Regions from separate parts of the Homo sapiens genome. Here region 1 is linked to region 2. Evidence: promoter capture Hi-C in 16 types of primary human blood cells and fetal thymus (Javierre and others, 2016). All regions are on one chromosome and are shown on one strand. Each heading gives the region's core, a stretch centred on a gene start or on the middle of the fragment in contact. The rest is flanking DNA. Distances are from core to core; before and after follow the strand shown.

Region 1 (6,022 bases), core at 2,961-5,460, 510 kb after region 2:
AACCTGTCCAAACAGCTAGTAGTTTGTTGAGCTGGAATTTAAACCCAGGTTGACTCCAAGGCTTAGACACGGTGTGCTCTGGCTTAACATTCTTTTTTTCCTCCTATTAGACAAATCAAGAATTTTCTGCCCAAGAGTGATGGCAAGACCGAGTGTATATTCTCATTCAGATGCCACACTGAGTACTCTTGCTTCCCAAAATATGGCAGTAAGTGCTTCGGAATAGCACAACAGTAAACCTTCAGGGACCATTTATGCCACCTCTGGGATAAAAATAAAGCCATTTATGGTCACACATAGGCCTCATACAGTTAGAGTTCAATGCCTATGATGAGTCGGGCATTATAAACCTGAGAATTAGCTATCTAGGTCAAGGTTACTCTGCTTTCTATACTTTGAGTTGCCATTTTCCAGTTATCTGAAGATAACCTGGTGATGAGGTGTATCTGTACCTTTTTGAGGCTTCTGCATCATTAAGGATTTAGAGATTAAAAGGATGAGGAAATAGTTGACATTGAAAGAAATACTGAGGCAGTTAAAACTCAATGTATTACTTCTGGCACTAACTTTGGAAGATTGTTGCCCCTCTTGGATTCAATCTCATGATGGAGGAGAGAGAAAAGATGGCTGCTAATCTCCATGACAAAAGAGTAGAATCAGCCAGGCGTGGTGGCTTAGGCCTGTAATCCTAGCACTTTGGGAGGCCAAAGTAGGTGGACTGCCTGAGCTCAGGAGTTCGAGACCAGCCCTTGAGATTCCGTCTCTACCATAAATATAAGAAATTAGCCGGGTGTGGTAGTGTGTGCCTGTAGTTCCAGCTACTTGGCAGGCTGAGACATGAGAATCACTTGAACCCTAAAGGTGGAGGTTGCTGTGAGCCAAGATTATGATACTTCACTCCATCCTCGGTGAAAGAGTGAGACTCTATCTCCCCAAAAAAATGAAAAATAAAAAATAAAAAGAGTAGAATCACAGAGATGAAAAGAAACTTCATTTTATAAGTTGTTCACTTTACAAATGAGAAACTGAAAACAGCAGAGCTGGTAATATTTGCCCAGGATCACAAAGCTAATTGTGGAAGACTAAAAAAGCTAGATCCTCTACCCATTTTTTTGTTCTTCGGGTAGTTCCCATTCTTGTCCTAACTCCAGAGGAAAAGAGAAGAAAGGCCCTGGAGGAAAATAGGAGGTAATCCTATTTTCTAAGTGCACGAAGACAAAGAATTGGGGAAATAACACAACTGCTGTCAGGTGATAAATACTACCAAGGAAGTAATTCCCAACATGTGTTCACCATAAATCTCAATTCCTTCTCCTGGCTTTAATATGGAAGTCAGGCAAATACAAATAACTCTTGCTTCTCCTTCCCCAAAATTCACATTAGTCAGTTCTGCTATAATGTAACATGTGCATTCCTTGAAATCACTGCACTATGCAAAATCATGCAGTAAAAACTACAGAGCATAATGGGAAAATGGGGCTAGGAGAACAACACTCAACCTAATTAAAATAGTAGTACAGTTTTAACTGGTTAACTGGTTAATTACATGATGCTGTAATAAATAGGGCATTTTAATTGAAAAACACCAGAAGTTTGCTCCTGGAAGTGAGCATCCAAAGGGTTGCAGCTTACGAGTTACTGTGAAGGTATTGGGTGAGGAGTTGGGACAGGAGATGTGGTTGGGTGGAATACATCATAACCACATGTGATGAACTAAGGGAGCTGGTCGATATTTGAAGATTGTACGTGTGTCTGCGTGCATTATGTGTATTATCACACATCTTTATTCATCTAGGTGCAGTCTTCTGTGCCTATCTAGAGGTTTCTCAGGGACAAAATTGCACATAAGCAAGCCAAAAATCTGTTATGCTTACATTGTTCTCTAATATATCAATCATGTTGAAGATTCATGTTTTCAAAACAGGTGTTATAGTAGAACTGACTATAAATTTCTTCCATTCATATAATGGCCCAAGAGATTTCCTGACTGTACCCTCCCTAACTTTACCATGAAACAACCTTAATGGTTCTCCTATTCTGACTTTCAGACAAACTGGTATGAGCACTGTCAAATGACTAATTTTAAGCTCTATTCACTAGGTATCAAGATCAACATGATTTATTTTTGTAGCTATACTTTTAAAAGACCAAAAAAGGAACTTCATTTTTAAAAATAATATAACGTTAACAATCAAGGAAAAATAATTACCATCACCAGTATCAAATTTTTTAAGTGGCACAAAATTTGAGCCAAACAAAAGGATAGCTACAAAACAGGAGATGTAACCAAAGGTTAGGTCTGCTCCATTGTTGCTCATGATTCCAGTCTTAATGAGTTAGCTGGTTCACTTTAGACTTGATGTACTTTTCAGGAGCTTCTGAAATAAAAGAAAAAATGAAACAATTGAGACGTGAATCTGTGACCAAATTGTGATTAACATATTATATTTATTGAATTTTTCAAAAGCACGCTAAGACTCCTTTTTGCAGATAGGATATTACACAACTATATATAATGTTTGTACTTCATGTTAATTTATTCTATCACCAAATATTTTTGATCACTAGCCTACAATTTAAAAAGAACAAGCCCTGAAGACAAATTTTTAGTACATTACAAAAAAAATTCTCCTGTGTAGGTTCCATCACTGCAGAAAGTTTTAGCGGATAACGCTGCTAAGCTTATTTAACAGCTTTAGCTTCTCTATGAAGAAAGGACTAAAACCACAAATAACCAAGAATTAGACATTTTTTCATAAAGTTACCATTTGGAAAAGGCCACTGAATACAATTCAGATTTTTAGTTTCCCGAGATACATGAGAAAAAAGCACCACCAAAGTAATTTTATCACAGGAGGTACAGCGTCTTTCCACAATGCCATCTTGGATTCATATTTTGCACACTGGCCCTTTGGAATAAGCCCTCTGGAATAGAAGCAGAATAATCCAGTGGTTTCTTTTTTCCTGCAAATTTAATGTTATAGTAATAACTTCTTGTATATATGTATTGAATAAAGTACACCTGAAATCACCTTTCCTTGTTATTTTATTTCACAATGACAAATATTTAAAGGTCCATGTATTGTTCCTTATGTGTTCTTGCAGAGAATATTAAATATACAACAACCTACAAAATATGTTATTTACCATTATTAAAGATAGTTTAACTGAAAACAAGGATCACTTCAAAACTGGTCAATAAACTTTAGTAAAGAAAATGTGTATTTGAAATTGTGTGGACTTTCTTAAAACAAAAACACATTGCTATTAAGAAAACATCCTCTATAGGGATGTGGTTGAGGAAGACACACTGAGGCACATTTCAACATTGACACATTAACACTATTCAATAAAAATAATTATTATTCTACTGTTAGGCTCAAAGAGAGGTTCAGCCCTGCAGTGACTTACATGGGTTATGGCTCAAGGGTCAGCTGAGGCAGGTGCTTGCTGCTAAGATAACAGAGGTGCCAAGATAACAGAGGTGCAACAGGTCAGAGATGCAGGAAGTGTCTTGAAAAGCTAACCTATGACTAAAAAGACACATGACTGGGTGATAGCTAACACATCATTTTCTCCCCATTTTAATTCACAACAAGCAAAGCAAAACAAAACCTTTATGTGTACATTGATAGAAGAGAATGTCTAACCTTCAAGAGTGGCAAATTATTTTATTGAGAAGGCTCCACAAAGGCCCTACACCTCTGAAACGGAGAGACTAATTTGACGTGCTAATTAGAGTGCATGAGGTGCATTTCGACTACTGAATAAACATCAATCAGTTATTACCTATAGATAAATGAAGTTTATTGCATGCAGCTCTTGTACATTTCAGAGCATGTGATCTTATTTCATTGTGAATTGGCAATAACTTACTGTCTTTAAAAAGGCTCTACCGCTCTCTAAAATAATGAAATTTTTGTGGAAAAGAAAAGCAGTATCACTCCATCCAGCACATTTTTCCCAATTCTTCCTGCACAAAACCTAAAAAGTCTCAAACATTATTTTAATGTTTTCTTTTCAGCGTTCGCTGATATTTTGTCAAACTATATTAATTCATTTTTATTTTATTACTTTTGTTTCATTTATTAGTAAATACTTCTCCTTTACATTTTTCCTAGTAATTTAAACTTCTACGCAGACTTTGAAAAAATTCGTATTTGGTATGTTCTGATCAATACTGCTTGCTCCACTCCAACTAAAATTTCATTTTTAGTTTCATGTTGATTTTCCCAAATCTCCAGGCAAGTACCGCCTGTCTTTGGGCTAAAATTAACAGTGCTTGAATGTATTTATTCCGAGCCTTGATTTTTCTTTTTAACCATGAGCACGTTTCTGAAAAATCATGAGACGCTCCCCTGCAAAGCGACTTGGCTTTCCTTTGAGTGGCTGTACTCACTGCGTTCCGGGCTGGCGGCTGAAGCTCCTTCCTACTCAGCGCCGGCGCGATCCGCCCACTACGTGCCAGTGTGGAGCCGGAGCCTGACTCATTCCCTCTACGTGCTGGGGGCGGCCTGGCCAGCCTTTACTTTCTGCGGGGACAATTTCCCATACACCGGCCGGGAGGAGAGGGGAGGGCTCTAGCACCCGTGACCCAGACTCCCGTTCCCAGGGTGCTCGCGAAGAGCGCCAATCCAGCCTTGACTTCCTGCTGGGACGTTTACCTCCACTTAAGGAGGGTGGAGAAAGGAGGGCTTTAGCACCGGTGACCTAGAGGCCTTCATAGGACAGCAGGTTGGGGAACGCCTTCCTTCAGTTGCTGTGCTGGACTGAATTGTCAGGTGGCTCAAAAGGAGTCGTCAAGCCCTGGGTCGGTCAACCAGGAAACTAGAAGAGTTTTGTGTATTTCAAGAGGTGATTATTCAGGAAACTCTCAGCATGTCACCCTCTCTAAGTGTCACAGAGGGAGGTATTATTTGTGCAGTTTATGGATAAAACAAAAGTCTGAGGAATTTCACACCATTGTAAAAGATTATCTCAAGTGAATTTTTCCACTTGGTATTAAGAAATTCATCTGCACCACTGACGTCATTAACATTTCTTGTGACATTACAAGATTTCACTTGTAATCACTAATTCTTTGTAGATGCACCTAAGCCATTTATCTGTACAGGCCATTTATCTGTATTTTTTTTTTTTAAGACGGAGTCTCGCTCTCGTCCAAGCTGGAGTGCAGTGGTGCAATCTCGGCTCCCTGCAACCTCCGCCTCCTGGGTTCAAGCGATTCTCCTGCCTCAGCCTCCTGAGTAGCTGGGACTACAGGCACCCACCACCACACCTGGCTAATTTTTTTGTATTTTTAGTAGAGACGGGGTTTCACCGTGTTAGCCAGGATGGTCTCGATCTCCTGACCTCAGGTGATCCGCCCGCCTCGCCCTCCCAAAGTGAGGGAGTCCTCTCAAAAAAAAAACAAAACAAAAAAAACATCTCTTCATGTGGGTTCGCATACACCAAAGGATGCAAACTTTAAGTTGGAAAGGGGAAGTGTAGGTTCTGTGCTAGTCTGAGTTCAAAGAAGCCTTCTCTGAGGAAGTGCTATTTAACCCGAGACCATCCAGTGGTTGGTAATGGGTGTAGCATTCACAGGAAGGAGAAAACACAAGGACTGTTAAAATATGACATTTCCTAGAAGGAAGTTCTGCCTTAAACATTAATCACATCCATAGACTATCATGTCAGATGAGCAGATGGGAAGGCAAAATAACATTTCATTTAAAGAATTAAAGCAGCAAAGCTTTTTCACTTAAGGAAGAGGATTAATTTAGCAGTTCAGAAAGATTTTGAAGAAATCAGTTCCCCTTTCCACACATGCACACCTAAGACACACACACATACACAAACTTGCTTCCAAAAATATAGGGCCTAAATCCAACCTAGAATTGTTTCACTTCATGGTCACAAGATCATGTGGTTTATTCTTGCTTCACTCACATGGAGAAACTGAAGCTTGTGTCAGCATTTGCTGAGAATTTCTAAAGTCTAAAAGTGAGTTGGGGGCTGAATTAGGCCTGAGAAGATTCAT
Region 2 (6,477 bases), core at 1,141-3,640:
GCACCACTGCACTCCAGCCTGGGTGATAGCACAAGACCCTGTCTCAAAAAAAAAAAAAAAAAAAAAAAAAGGATAAGGAATATGTTTTTTCATCATTGTATCATCAGCACTCAGAATGGAGGCTGGCATACAGTAAGAGCTAAATATTTGTCATATAATTGAATCAACTTTTGCTGAGTATCTATGTGGACATGCCTATGTATGTATGCATTTTGTTAATAAGGCAAATTTGTGATTACACAGAAAAATTCAATCAATATAATATCCTTACTGATTTGTCCTAAAATTTCACCGACACCTATTATTTATTTTTTCACAAAAGGTATGTTGGTATTTTAATTAAAAACGACTCTATAAATTGGTTTTATTATTTATTTATTTATTGTTTAGAAAATATTTTTTGTAGAGATGAGGTTTCACCATGTTGTCTGGGCTGGTCTTGAACTCCTGGGCTCAAGCCTTCCACCCACCTTGGCCTCCCAAAGTGCTGGGATTACAGGCGTGAGCCATCACACCCGGCCAACAAATTGGTTTTATTATGAGTAGCTAGTAATACATGTAATTTCTCTTTTACTTTTTAAAATATTATGAAAAAATTTAAATGTGCAAAATAAAGAAGAGTAGTATAATAAACTCCCATGCACCAATCATCTGCCTGGCCCTTATGTTTCATCCACAACCCAACCCACTTACCTGACTCCAGGTTATTTTAAAACAACTTCAGGCACTATAGCATCTAATTTTCAGTAATTTAAAAAAGAGTGTATAAGAATGCTTTAGAGATTACAAGGCAAATGCTTACACATTATCTTTTTCCATTCTCATACCCTGTTCTTTGGCACTTTACCGAAAAGGAAATGAGAAGGGTTCAGAGAAATTAAATGACTTTTCTTTGGTAACATGCCTAGTATACATGTAGTCAGAACTTGAAGCTTTTGCTTTTTTTTTTTTCTTTTTTAACATCAACTTTCGTGCTTAGTCCAGTGTATAACATCACAGGCAAATTCAAATTGAGAATAGGAATCAGTTGTTCTTTAACCGTAACCCTTCTAACTTTTACTTATCCTAAGACCGGGTAGCAAGTAGGGCAGGAGCCTTCATCTAGAGGGATGGTGACAGCTCTGATAGGGGAAAATTAGCACTGGTCTTTCCTTCCAAAAAGCCACTCTGGCTGCTGCTGTTGACACAAGGCTCCTGGCTTTTGAGACATTATTTGAGTGCTGGATTCCAATACTTTTTACTTTCTCATAAGAAAAAAAAATGTGAAGCATCTAAGGATATCTCCTGCCTTATTGATAAAGTAAGCCTCAGGCTGAATCCAAATTGCTGAGCTCCAATAGAACTACAGGGCAAAGCATCTACACAGGGAATTGCCACTCTTCTCCAAAATTAGGCTTTATTAAGAGGCAAGGCTATGTTCTCCTCATATATATGTGTGTGTGTGTGTGTGTGTGTGTGTGTGTGTGTGTGTGTAAAAAGTAAATGTTTTACACAGATCCCCATAAGGGAAAAGTGGGCTATAGTAATACAGTATTTTTTTGTTTTTCTTTTTTTTGGGGGGGGGGGGGACAGTTTCGCTCTGTCACCCAGTCTGGAGTACAGTGGCGCGATCTCGGTTCACTGCAACCGCCGCCTCCCGGGTTCAAGCGATTCTCCTGCCTCAGCCTCCCGAGTAGCTGGGACTACAGGCAAGCACCACCACGCCCGGGTGATTTTTTTTTTTTTTATTTTTAGTAGAGACGGGTTTCATCATGTTGGTCAGGCTGGTCTCGAACTCCTGACCTCAAATGATCCGCCCGCCTCGGCCTCCCAATGTGCTGGGACTACAGGCGTGAGCCACCGCGCCCCGCCAAATACAGTTTTATCAGGAATCAAAACTGTGCTCTCTTCTGGACTCTCAGCTTTAGCTGTTTGGAGCGTTTAGTCTAAGCCTTACCACTTACATTGTAATGTGAAGATCAAATTGTAACGACATGGCAATAATAAGGCTCCTATTGGTTGGGTACCACCAGTTTATGCCAGGCATTGTACTGATTCATGTCTTTAATCCTCAAAACGACCTTCCGAGGTCAGCGTTTTTATTCTTTTTCCAGAGGAGCAAACTGAGTTTCTGAGAAGTCACACCCAACTTGGTGGCAGAGCTGACGCTGGCATGGGGTTGACTCCAAAGCTCTCTACGCCACGAGGGTGGGAAAGACAACGAAACACAAGCGAGAAGAATAATGAGAACTGGGATCGCAACTTCATTAAATGAGAAGCCAGGAACAGGTGGCGGAGGGCACGCGGTTCGCTGCACGGAGTCGCTCAGGCTCTTTGAAACACCGCGCGGGGGAGCGGGGCGGTGCCGGAAGTCAGGCCATGGCTTCCGGTTCTTGCGTCGGAAGTGGCCGGTCAGCGTCGCTGCCGGTCTCCGGCGGAGACGGACTCTGGAGTTTGGGCGGCCCGGGCGGCCACTAGGTACTCTGATATTCCGTACTAAACACGTCTGCAAGTCAAGATGTCGCACCCGTCCCCCCAAGCCAAGCCCTCCAACCCCAGTAACCCTCGAGTCTTCTTTGACGTGGACATCGGAGGGGAGCGAGGTGAGCGGAGTCTGACGCTCGCGGAAAAGCCCCGAGGAGGCGGGGGTTCCCGGGATTTGGGGGATTCCAAGGGCGGAATGCGGCTCCGGCCGGTGACTGCTCAGTTTCGCGGAGGGGATGGCTGCCTAGGCTGGTCCGCCGGAGCAGGCCCGGAGATCTAGGGCTAGATCGATCCAGCGCCCTTGTATCAATGCCATCGGTGGTGCGGAAGTTTCTGGAAATTTCTAGTTCGGGAATTGTGGCGTCCTTTAGGTTTGCCTCCTGATTTGGTGGCACTTCCACGCCACCTTTGCACTACCAAGTTAGCATGAAATATTTTATGTTTGCAATGGGACAGTTCGGAAAGCATATCCTGGGATATGCGTCTGCTGGGCCCCAGGAAACTATATTTGCCACATGAGATAATATATCAGCACGTGCTGTGTTATTTATACGTTAAAGGGACTTGTTTGCTCATTGCTTTTGCCTTATTACTGATTCTTAATTTAGAGGTCCGTTCAGATGAGCAAACATTTTCTCTTAATTTGCCATTGGGAAAATGCGCTCAACGTAGTGATGGTGTTGCCTAGGTTACATAGCCGCTCAGAAGTTCCTAAGGCCTGGTGAATTAGGGAGCGTGTTGCTTTGTAACTGGATTGGCCTTGTTCTGGAACACGTTGGAATTGCTGGCCAGGCAATGTGTTTGAATGCATGTACAGGACACACACACGTTTACACGTACATTCAGTTTGTTGCAACTAGCTAGGGCTAGGTTTAATCTCACCTGTCTTAGCTGCTATCTAGAGGAGGAATTTTTACAGCTTTTGCTTCAGAGGTTGCATGAGGCAGTTTGCTCAGAGCACAAAGGCTGCAGGTATACGTAACACGTGGCAAGTCCGCCCACCCAAAGACTGTTTAATTTTCTCCCGTTGGTTGCTTGGTGATTGGAAATTCTCAGTACCTCTTGAAGAAATTACTCAGGATTTAAAACTATTTGTATTTAATGATATCTCTTACATGGTGCTAATCTTTTGGCTACTATAATTGGTTATGATCCTTAGTGTAATGTTTCAAATCTGTTTATATACATACATGACAGTAGGTAGACTAAATTTGAATATTAGAATAAAATAAGATTCACTAATTCTAGTGAGTATATTCAAAGGAAATGAAGTTTGTATGTCAAAGAGGTATCTGCACTCCCATGTTCATTGCAGCATTATTCATGATAGCCAAGATAATGGAATCAAACTAGGTTTCCATCTACAGATGGATTTTTTTTAAAATTTGATATATGTGCACAGTGGAGTACTATTCACCCATAAAAAATAATGAAATCTTGTCACTTCTGACAACATGAATTAATATGGAGGACATTATGTTACATGAAATAAGCTGGGCACAGGAAGACAAGGCATGATCTCACTTACATGTGGTTTCTAAAAAGTTGACCTTGAAGTAGAGAATGGAATGGTGGATTTCAGGGGTTGGGTAGATGTTGATCACGAGAGACCTAATTTCAGTTAGAAAGGGGGAATAAATTTAAGAGATCTATTGTATAACATAATGACTATAGTTAGTAGCAATGTGTTGTGTTCTTGAAATTGCAAAAAAGAAAAATTACAGTAAAGGGGAACTTGGTAATTCATGATTGATCTGCTACCATAATTATACCAACCTTCTTTTTATCATTTGTCTATTTGGTTGTTTTGCATACTGACAAGATTTTCTTTTCTTTTAGTTGGTCGAATTGTCTTAGAATTGTTTGCAGATATCGTACCCAAAACTGCGGAAAATTTTCGTGCACTGTGTACAGGAGAAAAAGGCATTGGACACACGACTGGGAAACCTCTCCATTTCAAAGGATGCCCTTTTCATCGAAGTATGTGTAAATTTTCTTAATCTTGTTATTCTTCATACAGACAAGTCCTGTTCTTTAGGATTTGGGGAAGAAAACACTAAGTAGGAAGTGAAGCTTAAAAAGTACTATTAGCGTCCATGTCTGAGGCAGTAACGCAGTTTCGTAAAGGTTAGGCTGTGCGAGGTGGAATTACTTATGGTACTAAGGTTTATCTATAGAGAAATGGACTCCCCTAGCTTTACCCATCCTCTCATTCTCCTTCACTCTAAGATGATTTGATTGAGAAAGGAAGGCCGTAGTCAACCAACCTTAGGTAGCTTCATTGCCTGGTGACAAAAAAGTTATGCATAGACCGGGCGCAGTGGCTCACGCCTGTAATCCCAGCACTTTGGGAGGCTGAGGCGGGTGAATCACGAGATCAGGAGATCGAGACCATCTTGGCTAACGCGGTGAAACCCCGTCTCTACTAAAAATACAAAAAATAAGCCGGGTGTGATGGTGGGCGCCTGTAGTCCCAGCTACTCGGGAGGCTGAGGCAGTAGAATGGCATGAACTCAGAAGGTGGAGCTTGCAGTGAGCCGAGATCACGCCACTGCACTCCATCCTGGGCGACAGAGTGAGACTCTGCCTCAAACAAACAAACAAACAAACAAACAAACAAAAAAATGCATAATTTTTGGGCCTGAGTGCTTGGGAAGGCAGCAGATTTGAAGATTCAGTGTTTTGGGCACATGGGTGATAGTGTGGTCAAAATATGCCATTTCATACTGCTTATTACACTTTGTAATGAATCATACTTTTGTTTAGTGATAATGGTTCTCCCAATAGACTGCAGGCTCTATGAGTTCAAGAACTGTATGTTTTCACCATTTTGTTTTTGGCATCTAATACAGTTATTGAGTAAGAACTCAGTAAGTATTTGTTTAATAAATAGGCAAATAAGCAATAATCACAAGAGCAACATTTTTTAAACGATTTATTAAGAAAAAATTAACTTTTTAAAAAATATTTAAAATGTTTACTTTCATGTTTAATAAAAACTTGAAATATGCTAATAAACTATATGCAGAAAATATTTAACATAGCAAGTGTGAGACTGCTATCTTTAGAAAGGTCTGCCTGCAAGAGTAGCACTTGTTTGGAGTCTGGGAACTTGACACTTGTACCATTTCCTAAATAGTAATGGTGATTTACTATGCCTAGCCTATTTGTACAAACATGAATGTGTGCTCTCTTTTGGGGAGTCTGGAATTTTGGTACATGCTAGGTAGAGTGTGCCCAATAAATACCTTGGGTGCTGAGTCTCTAATTGGCTCTCCTGGGCAGAAATACTGTGTACATGTTGCTGCATTTTTGTTGCTGGGGGAAGTGTGTGTTCTGTAGCACTTCATGGGACGGAGAAAGCATAAGGAAGCCTGCACATGGATTTTTCCAGACTCTGCCTGTGTCTTTCCCGTCATCTCGCTGTGTATCCTTACCACTGTGATCCAACCACATACTGATTTGTGTGAGCTCTAGGGTTCTCTGAACATGAAAGCAATCTTGGTAACCTTTGACACAAAGTGATATATTTGCTGAAAATTTTCCATTAGGGTAGAACAAATCTACTGGGAATCATTGGTCTGTATTCAGCAGACATTATTGAGTAACTAATATGTACTATGTGTACATGCACATAGTTATAAGGATGTAAAACAATACAGTTGGTGTACTTAAGGAGATCATTGCTGGAAGGGGCAGATCATAATGCCATATGTTATGTAGGCAGAGTCAAGATACTATGGGAGAAAAATTAGGACATACAGCTTAGGGATTTCAGTGACAGTTTTATAGGGGAGGTATCATTTGAACCGATTTTCTGAATGTTAGCAGGGATCAGGCAGTGAAAATAGGTTGGATTCAGATGGTGAAAAGCCTGAAGCGTTTGGAGTTGCGGAGACGGGTGGGGAGCGACAAACAGGAGAGAGACATGACTAGAGTCATGCACTACAAAGTTGTCTTACGTACGTATCCATTAGTAAGCATTGCTAAAGGCATCCATGTCTCAGTCACTAA

The links. Contacts are between HindIII fragments. The CHiCAGO score rates a contact against its expected background, and 5 or more counts as called.
Region 1: a contact is called between a fragment that was not itself captured here and the fragment with the promoter of PPID in region 2, in 5 of 17 cell types (erythroblasts, monocytes, megakaryocytes and 2 more). The highest score is 8.1, in erythroblasts.

The regions. Positions count from the first base shown.
Region 1 is chr4:158,208,964-158,214,985 of GRCh38, reverse strand. It overlaps TMEM144 (transmembrane protein 144), which reads right to left and starts at 4,500. Exons shown (of 13, transcript NM_018342.5): 1 at 4,400-4,500; 2 at 3,412-3,533; 3 at 2,210-2,378. The coding sequence starts at 2,318. RefSeq lists enhancers at 4,568-4,657, 4,558-5,112. The HindIII fragment of the contact is 3,053 bases long and covers 2,684-5,736 here.
Region 2 is chr4:158,719,309-158,725,785 of GRCh38, reverse strand. It overlaps PPID (peptidylprolyl isomerase D), which reads left to right and starts at 2,390. Exons shown (of 10, transcript NM_005038.3): 1 at 2,390-2,582; 2 at 4,303-4,443. The coding sequence starts at 2,498. RefSeq lists enhancers at 1,812-2,396, 2,284-2,763, 2,397-2,980. The HindIII fragment of the contact is 3,604 bases long and covers 935-4,538 here.